Linked DNA regions of Homo sapiens: all the other regions are linked to region 7. The links are contacts of gene promoters, found by promoter capture Hi-C in blood cells and fetal thymus (Javierre and others, 2016). All regions are on one chromosome and are shown on one strand. Each heading gives the region's core, a stretch centred on a gene start or on the middle of the fragment in contact. The rest is flanking DNA. Distances are from core to core; before and after follow the strand shown. Region 1 overlaps LINC02250 (long intergenic non-protein coding RNA 2250). Region 2 has its middle 23 kb from the start of LINC02250. Region 3 overlaps LINC02250 (long intergenic non-protein coding RNA 2250). Region 4 overlaps LINC02250 (long intergenic non-protein coding RNA 2250). Region 5 overlaps LINC02250 (long intergenic non-protein coding RNA 2250). Region 6 has its middle 52 kb from the start of LINC02250. Region 7 holds the start of MAGEL2 (MAGE family member L2).

Evidence for each region. The method cuts DNA at HindIII sites, captures the fragments that hold promoters and counts their contacts. A CHiCAGO score of 5 or more calls a contact.
Region 1: a fragment that was not itself captured here is called in contact with the fragment with the promoter of MAGEL2 in region 7 in 4 of 17 cell types (M0 macrophages, M1 macrophages, naive B cells and 1 more); the score reaches 8.4 in M0 macrophages.
Region 2: a fragment that was not itself captured here is called in contact with the fragment with the promoter of MAGEL2 in region 7 in 6 of 17 cell types (total B cells, M0 macrophages, non-activated CD4 T cells and 3 more); the score reaches 10.7 in total B cells.
Region 3: a contact is called between a fragment that was not itself captured here and the fragment with the promoter of MAGEL2 in region 7, in 16 of 17 cell types (M0 macrophages, naive B cells, non-activated CD4 T cells and 13 more). The highest score is 38.9, in M0 macrophages.
Region 4: a contact is called between a fragment that was not itself captured here and the fragment with the promoter of MAGEL2 in region 7, in 2 of 17 cell types (total CD4 T cells and M2 macrophages). The highest score is 7.1, in total CD4 T cells.
Region 5: a fragment that was not itself captured here is called in contact with the fragment with the promoter of MAGEL2 in region 7 in 9 of 17 cell types (M2 macrophages, non-activated CD4 T cells, M1 macrophages and 6 more); the score reaches 11.6 in M2 macrophages.
Region 6: a fragment that was not itself captured here is called in contact with the fragment with the promoter of MAGEL2 in region 7 in 4 of 17 cell types (M2 macrophages, total CD8 T cells, M1 macrophages and 1 more); the score reaches 7.2 in M2 macrophages.

What each region holds. Positions count from the first base shown.
Region 1 is chr15:25,464,308-25,467,049 of GRCh38, forward strand. All of the region lies in intron 4 of LINC02250 (long intergenic non-protein coding RNA 2250), which reads right to left. Among named protein-coding and RNA genes, the nearest start is that of UBE3A, 27 kb to the left of the region's middle. The HindIII fragment of the contact is 1,332 bases long and covers 586-1,917 here.
Region 2 is chr15:25,599,939-25,602,978 of GRCh38, forward strand. No RefSeq gene overlaps it. Among named protein-coding and RNA genes, the nearest start is that of LINC02250, 23 kb to the left of the region's middle. The HindIII fragment of the contact is 208 bases long and covers 1,344-1,551 here.
Region 3 is chr15:25,487,214-25,490,180 of GRCh38, forward strand. The region is part of intron 4 of LINC02250 (long intergenic non-protein coding RNA 2250); the gene reads right to left. Among named protein-coding and RNA genes, the nearest start is that of UBE3A, 50 kb to the left of the region's middle. The HindIII fragment of the contact is 3,038 bases long and covers 1-2,958 here.
Region 4 is chr15:25,570,209-25,573,010 of GRCh38, forward strand. All of the region lies in intron 1 of LINC02250 (long intergenic non-protein coding RNA 2250), which reads right to left. Among named protein-coding and RNA genes, the nearest start is that of LINC02250, 7.2 kb to the right of the region's middle. The HindIII fragment of the contact is 1,240 bases long and covers 878-2,117 here.
Region 5 is chr15:25,537,673-25,540,723 of GRCh38, forward strand. All of the region lies in intron 1 of LINC02250 (long intergenic non-protein coding RNA 2250), which reads right to left. Among named protein-coding and RNA genes, the nearest start is that of LINC02250, 40 kb to the right of the region's middle. The HindIII fragment of the contact is 1,709 bases long and covers 566-2,274 here.
Region 6 is chr15:25,629,751-25,632,654 of GRCh38, forward strand. No RefSeq gene overlaps it. Among named protein-coding and RNA genes, the nearest start is that of LINC02250, 52 kb to the left of the region's middle. The HindIII fragment of the contact is 1,477 bases long and covers 815-2,291 here.
Region 7 is chr15:23,646,492-23,649,197 of GRCh38, forward strand. It overlaps MAGEL2 (MAGE family member L2), which reads right to left and starts at 1,376. Exons shown (of 1, transcript NM_019066.5): 1 at 1-1,376. The coding sequence starts at 1,251. RefSeq lists an enhancer at 1-663. The HindIII fragment of the contact is 5,160 bases long and covers 1-2,516 here.

The sequences.
Region 1 (2,742 bases), core at 2-2,501, 1.8 Mb after region 7:
ACCTGGGGCAACTGATAGAATGTAAGATATTTGAATCTATTTTCCTGATGTTAGAATAGTTCTCTGTTTTGAGAGGCACAAGATTTATGACATTGTCCCTTCAAAGATTGAAATGTAATTATAGTACATACTTCATTCTACTATGAAACATACTTGCATACTAATTCCCCAGTCATCTTCACTTTCTTACCATCAGAACTCCAACATTAATTATGGCCATGTTGTGCCAAATTTTAAAAAAACATTTCCCAGCCTCCCTTGCAACTAGGGGTAGCCACATGATATGGTTTCAACCAATAAGATATAAGTGGAAGTTGCTGGGTGGAATTTGATCTTTTACCTTCTTGAGTTACTATTCCATCTTCTTTTTTCCTGTCTTTCAGTAACAGACTCGAGCTCAAGATTAGACACTAGCCTAATCTTTGGTTCTCTGCCAAATACCTGTTCTTAATCTTTTAGTTTTCTGCCACTTTTCTGAGAATGCTTTCCCAAAGCTTGCTAGTAACATCTTAATAGGCAAGCCCTAATTACACTCTCTCAGTCTTGATCTTCTTAGAACTTGGTCCATCCTGTAATACTCTTAAAAGCTTCTCATTTTTCAGGCAGCATCTCAGCTCCTCAAGTACTTTGATTCTGTGCTGATCCTGTGTTAACCACAGAGATCCTCCTTGGTCCCTAGTGTCTTTTGTCACTCTGAAATTTAAACAGTCACTGTGGTTTGCTGTTAGATTTCTTTCTTTCTTCTTTTGTCAGTTGTCTCTGCTATGGGGATTGCATTTTTTTTTCAAGGCTGTGGCAATTACGTTGATGAAGATCATTTCCCAGCCTTTAGCTTTCCTCTAGTCTCTCCCCCACGTGCCAGGCCTGTATTTCCAGATGTGTGCTCCATAGAGCCACTACCTCTACTAAAAATGTCTAAACTGAGACATATCGTTTTTTAAATTCCCTAATCAGGTTCTCCTTGTGATGGAGATGTTTTGATCAACAAATTGTTTTAAACTCTCAGCAGCAGGGGTTTATCATGTGCCAGGGACAGTGCCAAGAGCTTTACATTTTTGATTCTCACAGCAGCTCTGTCAGGTGCATAGCATTGTTAGCCCCATTTTACAGATGAAGAAACTGAGACCTAAAGAAGTGAGGCCTGATTTTTCCAACATCACACAATTTTTACTGGCTGAGACTGGTCCCCTGATGCCTAAGTCAAATGGTCTCCCTTTCCATAATAACACTTCTGACATCCTCCTAGTTTAAAAATCTCGATTCTACATTGAATCAGTTGCCAGATTCTGTCAGTTCTCTCTCCCAGACTTCCCATTTCCCCTTCTTATTGCCTAACCAAAGAAAACCCACTGTCAGCTTGTTGTGTGCAGGGTCATTGTCTCTTGTGTTCCAAGCCTTTTTGCACCCTCCACAAGTACAGTTCCTCTCCCTTCAAGTCATGTGGACAGGAGAAAATCCAAGCATCCATGAAATGGCCCCAGCGTACTCTTTCACTCTTCGTTTTGGCTTTTTTCAACCTGTCTTGGGCTGTAGCCAAATGACCACTTGCTCTGGAGGGATTCCTCACTGACCCACCTGAGGATTTGTGCTTGTCCTTAGACTGTAACAACCTACCCAGCCTCCTAGGCGCCTAGCCAAAATTCTCTCTGGCTCAGAGCCCAGACCTCTCCAATGCCTTGCATGCCTTGATGGGACCTTGTTGCAGTTTTCCTTTGACTTTGTGCCCCAGGTTCAGTACCTGGGTTCTTGCCATGTTCTGGTGACTAATTCCCATCTTCTAACCCACTTCAGGAACTGGGGCACAGCTACTCTTGGCAGTTCTCTCAGAGCCTGAAATTCTCTGCCAGCACCACAGGTTAGCAGCTGAAACTGCTACCTTGTGCACCTGCCTGAGCAGCTGCATAAATGCCTGCTCCAAGCTTCACCATGACCCTGTTTGCCTGCCTTCCAGAACGGATCTTGACCTCCACATGTGGACAACTGCTAGGAATGTGGCCCCTGCTTCACGTGTGACCCTCCAGACCTGGAACCTTGTCCTCAATCATCCAAATCCAGGCCACTTTACAGTCTGTGTCCCAGGGGTTCCCAAAGTGTGGTCTGCAGGGTGTTACTAGGCACTGGGTGTGGGGTGATTAAATAAATGTAGGCGACATTTAGTTATATATAGGTAGTTTTCTTAAGATGTGACTTTGTAGAGCTTTTAACATGTTTTCATGTATTACAGTTCTCCAAGTTCAGAACTGTAATTAAGTGCTGTTCCCATGCTTATTTCAAAATGAGACCATGTTTTTCACTGAACAGCTCTAGGGATACTGGAAGCACTGGCCACAAGTAGAGTTGGCATATAAAATTTCCAGGTCCAATTCCTCTCTGGCGAGGCCTAGCCCATTAAGCAGCATCTACTGTGATAAGGAACTGTGGTAGGCGCCACACATAAGCACATATGCTTGGTCCCCAAAGAGCTCATAGTTCAATGGTAGAGGAATATGTTCATAGGTAAGTGGTAGTAGTTACTTGACTGAGAGTGGATAAAGGTCATTTTGGGACGGTAAGGAGTAAATAGTTCTGCAGGAGTATTTGGGGAGTTTTCACAAGAAAGGGATATTTAATTTAGATCTTGAAGGATGATCCAGAAATTCTGCTGTATGCAAAGCATGTGCAAGATCCAGAATCACACAGTGCTGGGTGTATCTGGGGAGTGCTTGGGTTCTGCGGGTCAGAGATGCAGGATGTGTGAGGGCA
Region 2 (3,040 bases), core at 198-2,697, 2.0 Mb after region 7:
TTTGAGCTATAAAATCATTTCTGAGACAACTGGGAAAATGTTGGTATATACTGGATATGAGATGATATTAGGAAATTGAGGTTAATTTTTAAAATTGTGATTATGCTACTGTGGTCACAGAGGAGACTGTTCTTTTTCCTAGAAAACGCATGCTGAAGCAGTGAAGTGTCGTAACAACTGCAACTCACTTTCTAATGATTCAAAAAACACATGGATAGTTGGCCAGGGGCAGTGGCTCATGCCTGTAATCCCAGCACTTTGGGAGGCCAAAGTGGGCAGATCTCTTGAGGTCAGGAGTTCAAGGCCAGCCTGGCCAACATGGTGAAACCCCACCTCTACTAAAAATACAAAAATTAGCTGGGTGTGGTGGCACACACCTGTAATCCCAGCTACTCAGGAGGCCGAGGCAGGAGAATCACTTGAACTTGGGAGGTAGAGGTTGCAGTAAGCTGAGATCGTGCCACTGCACTCCAGCCTGGGTGACTGAGTAAGACTTCATCTCAAAACAAAACAAAACAAAAAACACACAGATAGATTAGACAGATACAGAAGTAAATACGACAAAATGTGGAATATTGAATACTACTGTGGGTATGTGAATGTTCACTGCAGTAATTTTTCAGCTCTTCTTTATGTTTCAATTTTTTATACTAAAATATTGGGCAGAAAATTAACATTCAAGTTACTTTTGGGTAGTCAGTCTAAGCTACAAACTTCTTGCTAGGTAGACAAGTCCAGGTTTGTTCTCTGGCCTCTTGAAGAATTTTTTTGCTGATATACAAAGGAACGCCAGGAAAAGAAATTTAACTTGAGCAAGAGAAGGGAGGCTCATAAGAGAGTTCCAACACTTAGAACTGAACCTCAGCATGGAAAAGACAATTTGGAGCGTGGAAATGTGGGGTGCTACTCACCTTACTCAACTTGTCCTTTGAGACTGGGTGGAAGGAGACTCTGAGTCATGTCATTAAAATCTACAGAAGACTCAGCACCCACCATTGCCAGAAACAAGGGAGGAAGGCCCACATGGTGACTCACATCTGTAATCCCTGTAATCCCAGCACTTTGGGAGGCAGAAGCAGGTGGACAGCTTGAGGCCAGGAGTTCAAGACCAGCCTGGGCAACATAGTGAGATCCCTATCTCTACAAATACTGTTTTTTTAAAAAAAATAGTCAGGTGTGGTGATATGCAATTGTAGTCCCAGTTACTTGAGATACTGAGGTGGAAAGACAGCTTGAGCCCAGGAGATCAAGGCTGCAGTGAGCTATGACTGTGCCACTGCATTCCAGCCTGGGCAACAGAGTGAGACCCTGTCTGTGAAAAAAAAAAAAAAAAAAAAAAAAAAAGCTTTGGCTGGTTGCAGTGGCTCATGCCTTGCCTATAATCCCAGTGCTTTGGGAGGCCAAGCAAGGCAGGAATGCTGGAGTTCGAGACCAGACTGGTCTACATGGCAAGACCTTAGTGTAGAGGTTAGGCTACGTCTCTGCAATCCTGCACAGGACCTACAGTAACACAGTCTTGTGACTGCTGTTGGGGTCCTTTTATATAAGTTAAGCTTTTGTGTTAATTTTACTTCAATTTATCACAAACTTCTACCCTGAAAAAAATATATCTGGGCAAGTGCCACTTGTCAATAAGAATGGATAAAAAAAGTTTTTAAATTAAAGCGTGATCTTGATTCTTTAAGAAACCTGTTGCACCTTCAAGCAATCTGGTGTGCATTCTTTCTGCCCTGCTCCCTTTCCTACTCCTACTTGTCTGACCTAGCCATCCTTTCAAGGTTCCCACCCTATTTCTGCTCTCTCCAGCTTTCTATCCTGGCCTATAATCTCATCTCCTGCACCCCTCCTCCCCAATCTATTCAGCCCACCACATTCAAAGCAATCTTTCTCATGTGTAATACCAACCATGTGTCCTCTCTCCCCCCTCCCCATTTTTTTTTAGCTTTATTGAGGTATAATTGGCATAAAAGAAACTGCACATAATTAGGTGACTGACTTCTTTCACTTAGCATAATGTCTTCCAGGTTTATTCATGTTGTCACAGACTGTAGGCTTTCCTTCTTTTTTTTAAGGCTGGATAATATTCTATTACATGGATATACCAATTTTTCTTTATCTGTTAATTTTTCAACGGACATTTGAGTTGTTTCCATATGTTGGCTATTGTGAATAAACCTGCAGTGAACATGGGAGTGCAGCTATCCCTTCAAGATCCTGACTTCAATTGTTATGGATGTATACCCAGAGGTGAGATTTCTGGATCATATGGTAGTTTAATTGTTAATTTTTTGAAAAATTTTCATACTGTTTTTCATGATGGCTATACCATTTTACATTACTATCAGCAGTATACAAACCTCACTAATATTTATAAATATTTTTATAGTAGCCATCCTAATAGGTGCAAGATAATATCTGATTGTGGTTTTGATGTGCATTTCCCTGCCGATGGGTAAAGCTGAGTATCTTTTTGTATACCTGTTGTCCATCATTTGTAGGTGTTCTTTGGAGAGATGTCTATTCCAATCCTTTGTTCATTTTTTAACCAGGTTTTTTGTTTGCTTCTGTTTTGTTTTTGTTTTTGCTATTGAGTTTAGAATCTCTTTATGTATTTTGGAAATTAACCCGTTATCAGATATATGGTTTGCAAATATTTTCTTCCATCCTATAAGTTGGCTTTTTACGCTGTTGATAGTTTCCTTTGCTGTCCCACTTAAGCTTTTCCCTCATGTTTTCTTCTAGAAGTTGTATGGTTTCAGCTATTACATTCAAATCATTAATCTATTTTGAGTTAATTTTTGTGTTTCATATAAGAAAGCATACAATTTCATTATTTTGCACGTGGATATTCAGTTTTCCCAACACCATTTATTTAAGAGACTGACCTGTCCCCATTGTGTATTCTTGGCATCCTCATCAAGAATCCATTAGCTATGTATACCTGGGTTTATTTCTGGGCTTTTTATTCTTTTCTATTGATCCATATGCCTATTTTTATGCCAGTATCAAACTGTTTTGTTTACTGGAGTTTGTAACGTAA
Region 3 (2,967 bases), core at 190-2,689, 1.8 Mb after region 7:
ATTATTTCTGTTCATAGATTTTGCATTTCTTTGTCATTCTTCTGTAAATTTCTGTCTCCATCCTATAGCGTTGTATTGAGTTCTCCATAGGCCAGTAATGGAATCAGCTTATCTTGAACCAGACCGTAATACAGCCTCTGGGTGTGAACAAGGCCACAAGCAAGGAAACTGAATACATCCTAGAGGAAGGAAATTGAGTTTCTGCTGAGGACGTTTAGGTAACATCACAGCACTTGTGTTATTGCTGGATGATGTTTCTTAGATTAAGCTGGCCTTGACACTTTCTCCAATGCTTTTAATACGATTTATTACTGAGGAAAAGATCTGGTCATTTAATAAAGATGCAGAAATACTTTCTGTCAAATTGTAAGGAAGCAATCCGTGTATTTTTGCAATATTGAATTGGTGAAAGTGAAATCACTTTAAAATGAAATTAGAGTGACTCATACACCCCCTGAATCATGGAAATACAGAGACCTGTGGCCAGTTAAACCCCTGAAACAAATTATCCATCCATGGCTGTCCCTAAGCACCCTTTTCTATTAAGGAGACACCTATAGCATCCAGCCTATTGTCTTTTTTATCTTTCTAGCTTTATTTTCTGCTTCCTGTCACCTACTTTTTATACTTGACATTTCAGTGTCCCTAAATCTAGCAATAGAATAGTTTTTTCCTCTGTACATATTGGTCCTTTTCTGCTGTTCTGATCAAGGCATACTGTAGACTTTTTATTTTAAGAATTGTATTATTCTCCAGATAGTTTTCAAGTCTATTGTATAGCTAGACAGAGGGATATGGGGCTAGATTATGTTACAATGCCATAAACCCTCTGTTCTTTCCCACTTTCAGCAGTTTTTCTGGAACAAACTCTCCTCAGATTACTGTAAACCTTTGGTTAATTTCAAGATCTCTTAAATAACTGATTTTTTGACAATTTTGGCTACTGTGTTTATTGCTCTGATGGAAAGGTAGATTCATAGGGATTGTCAACCTACTATTCTGGTGGTAAAATTTTAATAAGTTAAATTATAAGGGAATGTACCCACAAAGATAGTGCATTTTATTTAATAAAAAATTGTTGAGCAGCTAGTATTTACTGGGCAGTGGCCTAGCCACTGAAGATTCAAGTGTGGGAAAGAAACACTTTTGCTCACATTTAGCATTTGCTAACAGAAAGTTTACCATTTTCAAAGGAAATAGACTCGCAGATAGGAAGAAGTAAGCTGAGGAAGGAAATAAGTCTTCCTCTTCAGGACTAAAAAAGGGACAGTTGGCCAGAGAATGGAGTAAAGAGGCTGACACATCCACTTCCATTTACATTTTGGCCAAGCCAGAGAATAAAAACCGTAAGGTCATTGTGAGAGTCCTTCCACATTAAACTTTGCCCCAAATTTTCCATTTTTCACTTTATTTCTCTTAATTTCCATCTGGAGAATAATAAAAGAATCAAATGGCAACTGTAGAGCTAAAACTATCTTAAGTTTTAGCTTAAGATAAGATGAGGCCAGGTGCAGTGGCTCATGCCTGTAATCCCAGAACTTTGGGAGGCCAAATCAGGTGGATTACCTGAGGTTAGGAGTTCAAGACCAGCCTGGCCAACATGGAGAAATCCCATCTCTACTAAAAATACAAAAAATTAGCCAGGCGTGGTGGCAGGTGTCTATAATCCCACCTACTTGGGAGGCTGAGGCAGAAGAATTGCTTGAAGCTGGGAGGCAGAGGTTGCTGTGAGCCAAGATCACACCATTGCACTCCAGCCTGGATGACAGAGCAAGACTCTGTCTCAAAATTAATTAATTAATTAATCAAAACATAAATAAAACTATCATAATGAAATGTAAAATTTCTTAGAGGGTTTCAACAGAAGATTTAATCTTACAGAAGAAAGAATCAATGAGTTTGAAAATAGGTCAATTCAGATTATGCAGCCTGGGAAACAGAAATATATAAAAGAATGAAGAAAAATTAACAGTCATAAATACCTATGGGACACCATCAAGCACACCAACCTACCCATAAAGGCAGTCCAAGAATGAGAGAAATGAGAAAAAGGAGGAGAAGGAATACTTGAGGAAAACAATGACCAAAACATCCCAATTTTGATGGAAGCATTTATGTTCATATCCAAGAATATCAAATTAGATAAACTGAAAGAAATCTACACTTACACATATAATAGGCAAAACTGTTAAAAGACAAATAAGGAATACTGAAGACAGAGAAAAATGACTCATTACATGCAAGTGATCTATAATAAGATTAATAGCTAGCTTTCCATAAAAAAATCATAGAGATGAGAATGCAATGAAATGACATATTCAAAGTGCCAAAAGAAAAAGAATGTCAATCAAGAATTCTATATCCAGCAAAACTATCTTTTATATATAAAGGATAAATTAAAGCTGCTGTAGATTTTAAAAAACTGAGGCCAGGTGTGGTGGCTCATGCCTGTAATCCCAGCACTTTGGGAGGCTGAGGCAGGAGGATCACTTGAGGTCAGGAGTTTGAGACCAGCCTGGCAGACATGGTGAAACCCCATCTCTACTAAAAATTAGCTGGGTGTGGTGGCAGGTACCTGTAGTCCCAGCTACGTGGGAGGCTGAGGCAGGAGAATCATTTGAACCTGCAAGGCAGAAGTTGCAGTGACCTGAGATCACACCACTGCACTCCCACCTGGGCAACAGAGCAAGACTCTGTCTCAAAAAAACCCCAAAAACAAAACTGAGAAAGTTCAGTGGTAGATGACCTGCTCCCCAAGAAACACTGAAGGAAGTATTGCAGGCTGAAATTAAGTGATATTTATTAGTAACTTGAATCCGCATGAGTTTGTAACACTTTACTTTCTGATTTAAAAGACAACTCCACATAGCAATAATTATAAAACTTTGTTGATGAGCTTTTAATGTATATAGTTTCCATGATGCACAATGAAAGGAGAATGGAGCTATATTTAAATGAAGCTTTTGA
Region 4 (2,802 bases), core at 248-2,747, 1.9 Mb after region 7:
CATCAGGGAGCACAGCCCTGGAGCCCACGCAGGCCCACAGCTGGCCATGAGTGAGAAACTAACTTTTGCGAGTTGATGCTGAGGTCATGGTTTGAGATCACCCCATCTTCTTGCTCATCCTGACTGGTAGAGTCTTCAGGGTGGGTTTCATCCAATGACTCAACAATGACCCCGTGGACTGGCTCTTTCTGTCCCTCTGCCCTCTGAACCACGGCAAAATGGCTTCTGTAGTTCCAGAGACTTAAAGTCTGGAGCTACACTACCCAGAAGGTGCCTACAGCCCCGCTTCCATCACACTGGCCAAAATCAGGCTATAGGCCCATTTCCGAAGCAAGTTTTTCATCCAGGGAATGCCATAGACTTGGGTAAAGGGCCAGCCACTGGGGTAAGATCAGGCTGTGGGATCGCATAAATCCTATTAGATGAATCAAAGCCAGCTCCTGTAGGGGGGCATGAGGCTATTGTACCCTGAGGCACATAGAATAGGGGAGGGGTTAGGGAGAAGAGAATGAGGTGTGGGTCGGAGATTAGGAGGCAGGGAAGCAAAGTCATGTGCAGGGTGAACATGAGCCTGTCAAGATCCACCCCAAGGCCTTCCTAACTTTCCTGCAGCATGGCACACATTTCATTTTTCTCAAGATCAATGGGGCAGTGAACTTCTGAGTTCACAGTGAAGAATGAACCTGTAAAAAACAAAATAAGCCAGGCACAGGAAGACAAATACAGCATGATCTCACTTATATATATGTAATCTGAAAATGTTGAACTCGTAGATATGGTGAATAAAATCGTGGCTAGCAGGGGCTGGGGCATGGGGGAAGGGGAATGGGTAGAGGTTGTTTAAAGGGTACAAAGTTTCAGTTACATAGGAAGAATAAGCTTCTGAGATCTATTGCACAGCATGGTGAATATAGTTAATGTATTGTATATTTCAAAACCGCTAAAAGTAAATACCAAATGCCTCACCACAGAAAATGATAAGTGATGTGGTGGACAGGTTAATTAGCTTGATTTAATCATGCCACTCCAAACTTCACATTATACTTCACAAATATATACAATTATTATTTGTCAATTATGCAATTTAGATTTTTTAAAAAAGAAATTGTAAAAACAAGTTTTACAAAAGGCTCTTCTAAGTCCATTAAGAAAATGAAGGCCAAGTATGGTGGCTTAATGCCTATAATCCCAACACTTTGGGAGGCCAGTGTGGGAGGATTGCTTGAAGCCAAGAGGTTGAGGCCAGCCTGAACAACAAAGTGAGTCCCCATCTCTACAGAAAATAAAAAAAAATTAGCCAGGTGTGGTGGCATGCACCTGTAGTCCCTGCTACTTGGAAGGCTGAGGTGGGAGGCTGAGGTGGGAAGATGGCTTGAGTTCAGGAGTTTGAAGCTGCAGTGAGCTAATATCGTGCTACTGCACTCCAAGCTGGGAGACAGAGCAAGACCTCAGAAAAACAAGATCATGAAAACATTCTCTCTTATCTCCTTCCAGAATTGTTTTAGCTTTCACATTTAGGTATATGACCCAACTTAAACTAATTTTCATTTTTAGGGTAAGATATGGGTAAGGTGTTTTCTTTTTTCCATACAGGTATCCAGTTGCTCTGTTTATTATCCAGACCATCTGTTTCCATCTGAATAGCAGCAGCACCTTCGTGGTAAACCACATGTGGGTCTATTTCTGGATCCTCTGTTCTATTCCACTGTTCTCTTTGTCCATCCTTCCTCTAATACCAGTCTATCTGAACTACTGTAGCTTCAAAAGAATTCTTGAAATCCTTGAACTTTGCTCTTCTTCATTAAGTATTCTGTTTCTTTCAGGTCCTTTGTCTTTTCATATATATTTTAAAATCAGCTTCTCAATTTCATCTCTTTAAAAAAACTGTTTAGCTATATCTGAATTCATCAAAAGATACGGGAGGAATTGACATCTAAACAATACGAACTTTTCAACCTCTAAACATGGAACATCTTTTCATTTATTTTGGTCTTCTTTCATTTCTTTCAGTAAGGTTTTCTAGCATATTAATCAGAATTCTCCAGAGAAACAGAAACAACAGGATGTGTATATACAGTGAGATTTATTTTTAAGGAATTGGCCTACAAGACTGTGGAAGCTTGTAAGTCCAAAATCTGCAGGGTAGATTGGCAGGCTAGAGACGCGGGGGAGAATGTCAGTCCAAGTTGCAAAGGCAGTCAGCTGGCAGAGTTCCTTCTTGCTCAGGAGAGGCCAGTCATTGTTCTATTGAGCGCCTTCAGCCGACAGGATGAGGCCCACTCACATTATGGGGGGTAATCTGCTTTACTCCCAGTCTATCAGTTTTGGTTAATCTCAACAAAAACCACCTTCACAGAAACATCCAGAATAATGCTTGACCAAATAACTGGACACTGTGACCCAGCCAAGTTGACTATAAAATTAGCCAGTGCAAGTCCACCCCTTGTCATCTGGGCAGCTATACACATCTCCTTAAACCATACTTAATTTCCAAACAAAGATGATAACAAGGCCATCTTTCACCTATCATAATTGTCCTGCATACAACCAAAAATGCACTAACTCCCTCCCCAAAAGAGTATGCAACGTCCTCAGGTGATGCTTATGCCTCTCGATAGCCTGCAACTTAAATACTATGATGTAAAGTTAACAATACAGTCATGTACCATATAATGACCTTATGGTCAAGAACAAAACTTATATACAACAATGGTCCCATAAGATTATAATACTGTATTTTTACTCTACCTTTTCTATATTTAGATATGTTTAGATATACACATACTGACAAGTGTGTTACAA
Region 5 (3,051 bases), core at 170-2,669, 1.9 Mb after region 7:
GTCTACAATCAAGGTGCGGGCAGGGCTGTGTTCCTTCTTGGGGCCCTAGGGAATAAGCTTTTCCAGCTTCCACACTCCACACACATTCCTTGGGTCATGGCCCCATCTCTGTCTTTAGAGCCAGCGATGGTCAGTCAAGTCTTTCTCACAAGGCATCACTCTGACATGACTTCAGTTGTCACATCTCTGGTTCTGACTCTCCTGCCTCCCTATTTCTCTTCTAAGGATTCTTGAGATTACACTAGGCCCTTGGGATAGTCCAGGATAATCTCTCCATTTCACAGTTTTCAACCTTAATCACATCTGCAAAGTCCCTTTTGCCATATAAGGTGCTGGCCTGAAAGGAAGAAGCTGATGCAAAATTACGTGGAAAGTCCACTTGGGGCCAAGCTTGAGGGCCTGGATTCAAGTAGCCCTGAATATACACTCAGAACAGCCACAGTTACTAGTGGATTTTTTAATGCAAAAAAGTGGGGCAGGAAGTGGGCTGATACAAAGTTGTTTGTTAGGAATTCTCATTGGTTTACAGGAATAACATTGATTAGTGATTGGCTATCCATTGTTAAGCTTTAGGATGTGTGTTATAGTGTCTGGTGTGGCATTATTGGGTTAATTTATGGCTACTTGTGGCAATAGCAAGCAGTTTCATGAGATGAACATGGGGGGAAGCTCATGGGGGGAAGCAAGACACAATTGCTGCCTCATTTTAAGGTCTCTCTGAGCCTGATAATTAAAAGGACTTGCATTACTCAGATAAAAGCTCTTTCCTCAAAAGTAACATGTTCATAGATTTTGGGGATTGGTGTGTGGACATCTTTTAGGGAAGGCATTAGACTGTCTGCTACCGTGACACTATCCTGACTTATCGCACTATGATTTATGTTATGTTGCCTGAAATTATACAACATGCACTTTTTTTGTATCTCACTTTTTTCTCGATACTGTGTGAGAGTCAGCATATTGTTTCATGTATCTCTAGCTGATGTATTCCTAATTGTCTAATGTTTTACTGTATGAATACACCACAATTTATGTATACACTCTAAGTGGATGGGCATTTGGATTGTTCCCAGTTTGGGGCTCTTACATAAGATGCTGCTCTGTGTCTGCTTGGGCCTGTGTCTTGGCGTTCCTAGAAGTGGCATTGCTGGGTAAGAGAATATACCACAATTGATGTGAGCACACATCCTAGTTTGCTTGGAACAATCCCAATTTATGCCTGTTGTCCTATCTGGTAAAAGCCTACATTCACTCTCAAAATATGGTCACCCTAGGCATAGTGATACTTATTTCCAACTCCAGTAATGTAGCCAGACAGTTTCCAAAGTGAGAGTAACTGGCCAGGTGCAGTGGCTCACACCTGTAATCCCAGCATTTTGGGAGGCCGAGGCGGGCAGATCACTTGAGGTCAGGAGTTTGAGACTAGCTGACCAACATGGTGAAACATTAGCTGGGCATGGTGGTGCATGCCTGTAATCCCAGCACTTTGGCAGGCTGGAGTGGCAGATCATTTGAGGTCAAGAGTTTGAGACCAGTCTGGCCAACATGGTGAAACTCCGTCTCTGCTAAAAATACAAAAATAGCCGGGCATGTTGGTGATGCGCACCTGTAATCCCAGCTACTTGGGAGGCTGAGGCAGGAGAATCGCTTGAACCCAGGAGACAGAGGTTGCAGTGAGCTAAGATCACGCCACTGCACTCCAGCCTAGATGACAGAGTGAGACTCCATCGCCCCCAAAACACAAAAAACAAAGTGGCAGTAACTTGTGCTCCAGCAACAGTGCGCTCCACATCCTCACCAAACACTTGTGATTGGCCGTCTTTCTCGTTGTAGTTTAATTTGCATTTCCCAATTACTACTAACAAGATTGAGAAACTTTTCATAAATTTATTGCCCATTTAGGACAGTACATTTTTTGAGAAATCTCTGGATCACTTGCTCATTTTTCAATAGAGTCGTCTATCTTTTCTTATGGATTCGTTAGGGATGCTTTTGATATTCTAGATCTGAGTATTTTGTTGATTACATGAATTGCAAATATCTTCTCTCTCTCTGTGGCTTGCCTTCTCACTCTCTTAATGGTGCCTTTTAAGGAATGGACATTCTTAATTTGAATGTGATTTGAATGATTTATCTTTTTATTTATGATTAGCCCTTTTTGTGTCCTATTTAAGAAATCTTTCTCTACACTCAAGACTGTGAAAATATTTTCCTTTATTACCTCCTTGAAAATATGTTGTTTTGCCTTTTATATTTAGGTCTACAATCTACCTAAGCTTGATTTTTTTATGTGAGAAGGTCAACTTTAATTCTGTTTTCAAAAGGGTAAATAATACAATTGACCCAACACTATTTATATAAAATAATATCGTTTTCTTCCCCATTGTTTGATGTACCACCTTTTCAAAAATCAAGGGTTAATATATGCACTGGCCTGTTTCTAGGCTATCTGTTCCATTTGTCATGAGTCTATTTGTTTATCCTTGGGAACAATATCATGCCATCAACTGAACTATTACAGTTTTATAATAAATCATGATAGGTGGAAGAGGAAACTCTCCCCTCATTATTCTTCTTAAAGCGTATCTTAAGTATTCTTAGTTCTTTGCATTTCCACTTAAATTTCAGAATTGTATTAATAATGTCCTTTAAAAAACTCATTGGGATTTTTATTGAGATTGCATAGATCAGTTGTTACCCACCTTCTTGGTCTCCCAATGCAATAGAAATTGACATGAGATCAGAGAGTTTTCCCAGACAAGGCTTCACTGGAGCTTATGCTGGTGCATAAGGGAGGCAGCACCAGAGAGAGAGAGAGAGAGAGAGAGAGAGAGAGAGAGAGAGAGAGAGCGCTATCTGGCTGACTCTCTGAAAAGAGCCAGTAGGGCTTTTTTTTTTTTTTTTTGGCAAAGGATGGGAATTGACATCAGGGATAGATATGTAGGCTGGGTTGGGCACAGTATGTGAGGGGTAGGGTACACAGGTCAGCATATCTGGTTGTGATGGTTATCTTGAGTAACGGGCCACCTGATGGTCTGGCTGGTGGCAACA
Region 6 (2,904 bases), core at 303-2,802, 2.0 Mb after region 7:
GGTGTTTAGGGCTATAAATTTCCCTCTTAACACTGCCTTAGCTGTGTCCCAGAGATTCTGATATGTCATATCTTTGTTCTTATTAGTTTCAAAGAATTTCTTAATTTCTACAATAACTTCATTATTTACCCAAAAGTCATTCAGGAGCAAGTTGTTTAATTTCCATTAACTTTCACTTCATACATTTTTCCTGCTGGGTCTCTTTTTACAAGAGGCATGCTTTGCTTTGTTAAATTAAAAAAATAAAGAAAATTGAAAGAGAGAAATAAACAGCAATTTTGAAAAGAAAGAAGAAAAGTTGAAATAAAGATGATTAGGGATGGGATATGGGGGGAGATGAGACAGCCTAGGGTCAGAGAAGACCGAGAGAACCTCTCCGGAGTCAGAGCCTACATGGATCTTCCAAGCTCTAGAACCCAGTTTGTAAATTGCATGTGCATAGTGCAAGGACGGTCTGAAGCACAACTTTGTCAAAACTATGGGATACAGAACCTCATGACCCCCATCACCACAGGGCCACAGGGTGTTTGTTCCCAAGAGCCAGGCAGCCCCAGCTGGCATCCATCCCTCCTCCTGGGCAGCATGGCTGAGGGCACATGGTAACTGGGAAAGTCCCCAGCCCAAAGGCCTATTTGAATTAGGACCAGCCAGTGGTGGCATCAGAGATGAACCCACCTCTACAATGGGCAAGTGTTATCATTCTTTGAATAACTGTTATTGAGTCTTTATTAAGAGAGGAGTAACTGGGCATTAGAATTCACATGTGTTGGAGAAAAAGTTTGTGTTTATCTGATGACATAGTCTGGGGCCAAAAAGCTTTATTAGCCACCATTTACAGCTCTTGCTGAGCATGCTCTCAGTGAAAATTCCAGGATTTCCCACTAAAAGTTTGGCTTCCTGAATACTCTCTTCATCCTAAAGTGGAGGAGCATGGCATTCTGAGGACAAGAAAAGGAGAAATGGTATATGATAAGTAAAGCACTGAGTTTTTAATCCAGAGGCTTCTAGTAGCTGCTTTGGGACGTCTTCCACAGGATACAGATGCCTTGTTCTAGAGCTAACCCAATCAGCTTTGTCATGGCCCCTGGGAGGTGCTGTCCAGAGTCCCTTCAATGACAAACTCTCTGCCCAGCTCCAGGGAGTGCTGGTGGCAGGTGGTTTCCAGCTGCCAGACCCTTGGGGACTGCCTCTGCTTCAGAGCCACCTTGTCCATGGATGCATCCCTCCCTGGGGTGGCCCACACCCAGTGATGGATCCAAGTGGTTATAGGAAGGCCTGTCCATCTCTGTCCACCTTAGAAACAACACTAACTAGCTAAGGAGCCCCCCTAGGGCCAGCTGAAGCCACTTCTGGGTCACCCCTCAGCCCAACTTCCCCTGAACAAATCCCACTTCTTGCTTCTCCTCCCATAGTGTTGATCCCTAGCAAGCACCCTGTGTGCCCAGCTTCATCTCAGCATCGGCTTCCAGGGCTGACCATGACAACCATCTGACCTAAAAATGCTCAAAGGCAGAACACTGAGGAAGCAAAAGGTTTAATTTATGTACTATGTATATCTGCAAAAACATATTCAACATACGAAGTATATTTACACAAATGTTAATGTATAAACATAAATATTCAAAGTATGTATTTACATCTACACACATATTTAATTATTTGAGTATTTTTAAAGTATTTAAAGTATTTACTAGGAGCTCTCTTATCTAATTCCTGTGAACCCTGTAGTGAGTAAGCATACAGCCAAAATTATTTAAAGTAGAAAATCATTATATATGAGCATATATATATATATATATATCTATTACATGCACATGTGTATATATGTGATGTGTATATGTGTGTGTCTATGTAGGCATGTGCAGGTATGTGCGTGGGCACACACATATGCACATCACATGTAAACATAGTTACATATGTGAACATACATAGGTATACGTGCGTGTCTATATGTATATGTGTGTATGCATGTATGTGTGTGTCTGTGTGTGTGTGTATAACATTTTATTTTAACTTGAAGCCTAAAGACATAGATGTACGTGCTGGTCATCTGATTTGGTGATTTCAGATCTATATTGACTTCCTGTTCAGAGCACACAGTTGTAATACATTGTCCATATTTATCAGTTTCAACAGATTTAAAGTGACATGAGAGCTTAAAGACTTTTGGACAGACTCTAAGCGTGGAATTCTTATGGAATTTTACTTCCCTCCATTTGTTAGAGTTTCTTCCCACACACTTAATTGGACATAATGTTTTTTCATGATTCACCTTGATTGAGTCTTTCCAAAGCTTTGAACTTCATTTTCATAGAAACAGTAACTCTTTCCCCACTCATATTGTCATGGGATTAGGTAATATTTAACTAAATCACATGACAACACTATCTGGGCGCACTAGGGCCGGGCACCAACGCCACCGACTCTAAGGCGGCGAGCATCTTGATGGATCAGGCATGGGGCTTGCTCCCTGGTGCTCCAGGACCTCAGCTGCAGCCCAAGGATTCCTTCGGGAAGGTGCAGGAAGCTGGAAGAGCCCTGCCAGCCCAGAGAGGCCATTGTGGGAGGGTCTTTAGGAGAGTTTCTCTTGAGTAAGTGTAAATGCAAAATGTTGAACGTCTAGCTACTGCGGTGTCATGTATGTTTTTAAGAGGTGCACACGCTCACTCCCGTCACTCAGCCCATATCACTAGGTTTCTCTGTGCTGGGCACTGAAAATACAGTCCCCCAGAATGCAAAGTCCTTGCCTCAGAGGGACTCACAGGTGCATGGCACCAATCTGTAAATAGCTATCCCAAGCAACGAGATAGGTGCTGTGAGAATGTGCAGGTGAGAGAGACCACCTAGGCAGGCAGGGCACAGTCCAAAGGGAGGTGACATTTATTTGAGGCAAGTCTTGCAGAA
Region 7 (2,706 bases), core at 126-2,625:
GCGGATGGGCGGGGGCCCCTGGCGCATGGGCGGCGGCACCTGCCAGGTAACGGCTGGTGCCTGCCAGGTGACCTGCGTGGTCTGCCAAGTCAGGGGAGTGGCCTGCCAGCCTTGCTGCGTGGCCTGCCATCCTGGCGAGGTCGCCTGCCAGCCCGGGGGTGTGGCTAGCTGCGCTGGGGGTGCCTGCGGGCCCTGGGGAACCTGCGGAGGAGCCCTTATAACTTGAGACTGGATTTGCAGGATCAGAGGCTGAGCCTGCGGGGCCCAAGAAGCCATCGGCTGTGCAGGTGGGGCCATCGGCTGTGCAGGTGGGGCCGCCGGCTGTGCCATCGGTGCTCCTGAAGCTGGAGGCTGGGTCATCGGAGCTCTCGCACCTGGAGGATGAATCATCAGGACTCCTGGACCTGGAGGCTTGGCCATCGGTGCTCCTGAAGGCTGAGGCTGGGTCATCATGGCTGCTGGAGGCGGCTGGACCATCGGTGCTCCCGGAGCAGCAGGCTGGACCATCAGGACTCCCGGAGTCAGAGGCTGGGCCATCAGGACTCCCGGAGCTGGAGGCTGGGCCATCGGTGTACCCGGAGGGGGAGGATGAGCCATCGGTGTCCCCGGAGGTGGAGGATGAGCCATCGGTGTCCCCGGAGGGGGAGGATGAGCCATCGGTGTCCCCGGAGGGGGAGGATGAGCCATCGGGGTCCCCGGAGGAGGAGGATGCACCATCGGGGTCCCCGGAGGAGGAGGATGGGCCATCGGGGTCCCCGGAGGAGGAGGATGGGCCATTGGGGTCCCCGGAGGGGGAGGGTGGGACATTGGGGTCCCCGGAGGAGGAGGATGGGCCATGGGAGCTCCGGGAGCTGAAGGATGCACCATCAGGACTCCCGGGGTCGGAGGCTGGGCCATCGGGGCTCCCGGAGGTGGAGGATGCACCATCAGGACCCCGGGAGTCGGAGGCTTACCCATCGGGCCCCCCAGCGGGGGAGCCGGGACTATCGGGCCCCCTAGGGCAGGAGGCTGGGTCATCGGAACCACCGGGGCGGGCAGCTGGCCCTGTGGGGCCTCCCAGGCAGGCTGAGGTGCCTGCCAAGCGGCCAATGAAGCCTGCAAGTCAATTGGAGGTGGATCCCAAGGGACTGGCGGAGCCCGGGAGGAAGCGGGCGGGGCCCGCATCAGAACCGTAGGGCGGCTATAGACAGGCGGCTTCGGGGCCTCCGCCGGAGGACTCGAGTCACCCAGATTCTTACTTAGCTGCGACATGTCCCTTTGCTGACAGCTGGTGGGTCTTTTCCTCGGACAGCTGCTGGGCCTTTTCCTCCAGAGAGAAGAGAATGCCTACGTGGCTGTTCAGAGGCTCCCTCCCTGCTGAATGCTGAATAGGAAGTGAGTGCTGCTCGCTCCGCAGCTTTCCGCAGTAAGGAGGAGGGGGGAAGGGGGCTCAATCCCGCCCCTTCCCCGCCCCCGACCACCACAAGTGGATATTGCATAGGGGCGTCTACCGGAGTCCTGGCTGACACAGGATCCCTTCTCACTCTGTCCAGTCCCCAAATGCAGACCAGTCAGACTCCACATGGATGACTTTTCACAGGGGAGTGACAGGAACCCATCCATGTTTTAGAAAAATCACTGTACTGCAGTGTGGAGTGGGAGCAGACCACTGGAAACATGGAAGGTATCCAAGACGGCGGGGGGAGATGGTGTGGTCTGGGCTAAGATGTGAGGCGGAGAATGAAAAAAGCGCATTTACATAAGAGAGTTCCAGGAGTTATAGCAGACAGATACCTGTATTATAATTGAATAAAGGAGTCAAAGACATGGAAAAGGCACACAAGTCCCTGCCTGGAGAAAGTGGGAAGTTGCAGGGACTGTTACTCTCTTAGGGTCCCAGGAGAGGCACACGGGAAGAGAGGCTGATGAGTATTGGCAGACACAGGGCATTTGCGGTGCTGTGGGACTGCCAAGGAGAGATACCCTGTAGGCACTCCTGTATGATGTCTTGGGAGTCCTGCTTGGCTATTCCTCATGAAAATAGAGTTGTGGGAGGGAATGTGGTTGCACTGGGTCTTGAAGAACACAGGCATGTTAGAGACACATGGAGAAAAGGGACAGCAGCGAGTAGAGAGAGAGGAAAAGAAGTCACGGAACTGAGACATGCCACACATCAGTGGAAGACAGCATTTTTAGTATGGGAAAACTGCCTGTGGAATGGCTCGGATGCAGGAACAGAGTAGGTTTCTCAGTATTTTTCATCTGCAGAATGGGAAAGAAATTTAAAAAATGAAAACCAAATAACGCACCTGAAGATAACAAAATGGGTATATAAATAGATCAAAAATTGATATATTTGGATATATAGGAAAAACAGGCAAAGAATAAAAAAATTTCTGGGGAAACTTCTCGTGACAAAAATCAGTTTAAATATGAGACAAATCAAGTATTAACAGATAAAGCAGATGACAATAGTATTATTGGGCAATGCTATACAACTTTATGGTGAGAGGAAGTGATAATCTCAGTAATTGAAAAGCTTTCTGGAAATATACAAAGCACTAAATATCAAGGATGTTTCGTTTAAATAGGCTGTTGGCAGCCTACGGCAGGAGTCCAGAGTGACAAAACGTGCCACCAGGGGGCAGATGAGGACGATGAAGGGTACACCCCACTCCTTCCCAGGTACCCTTAGCCAGGGGTCCTCAAATTTGGTAATTTATGGAC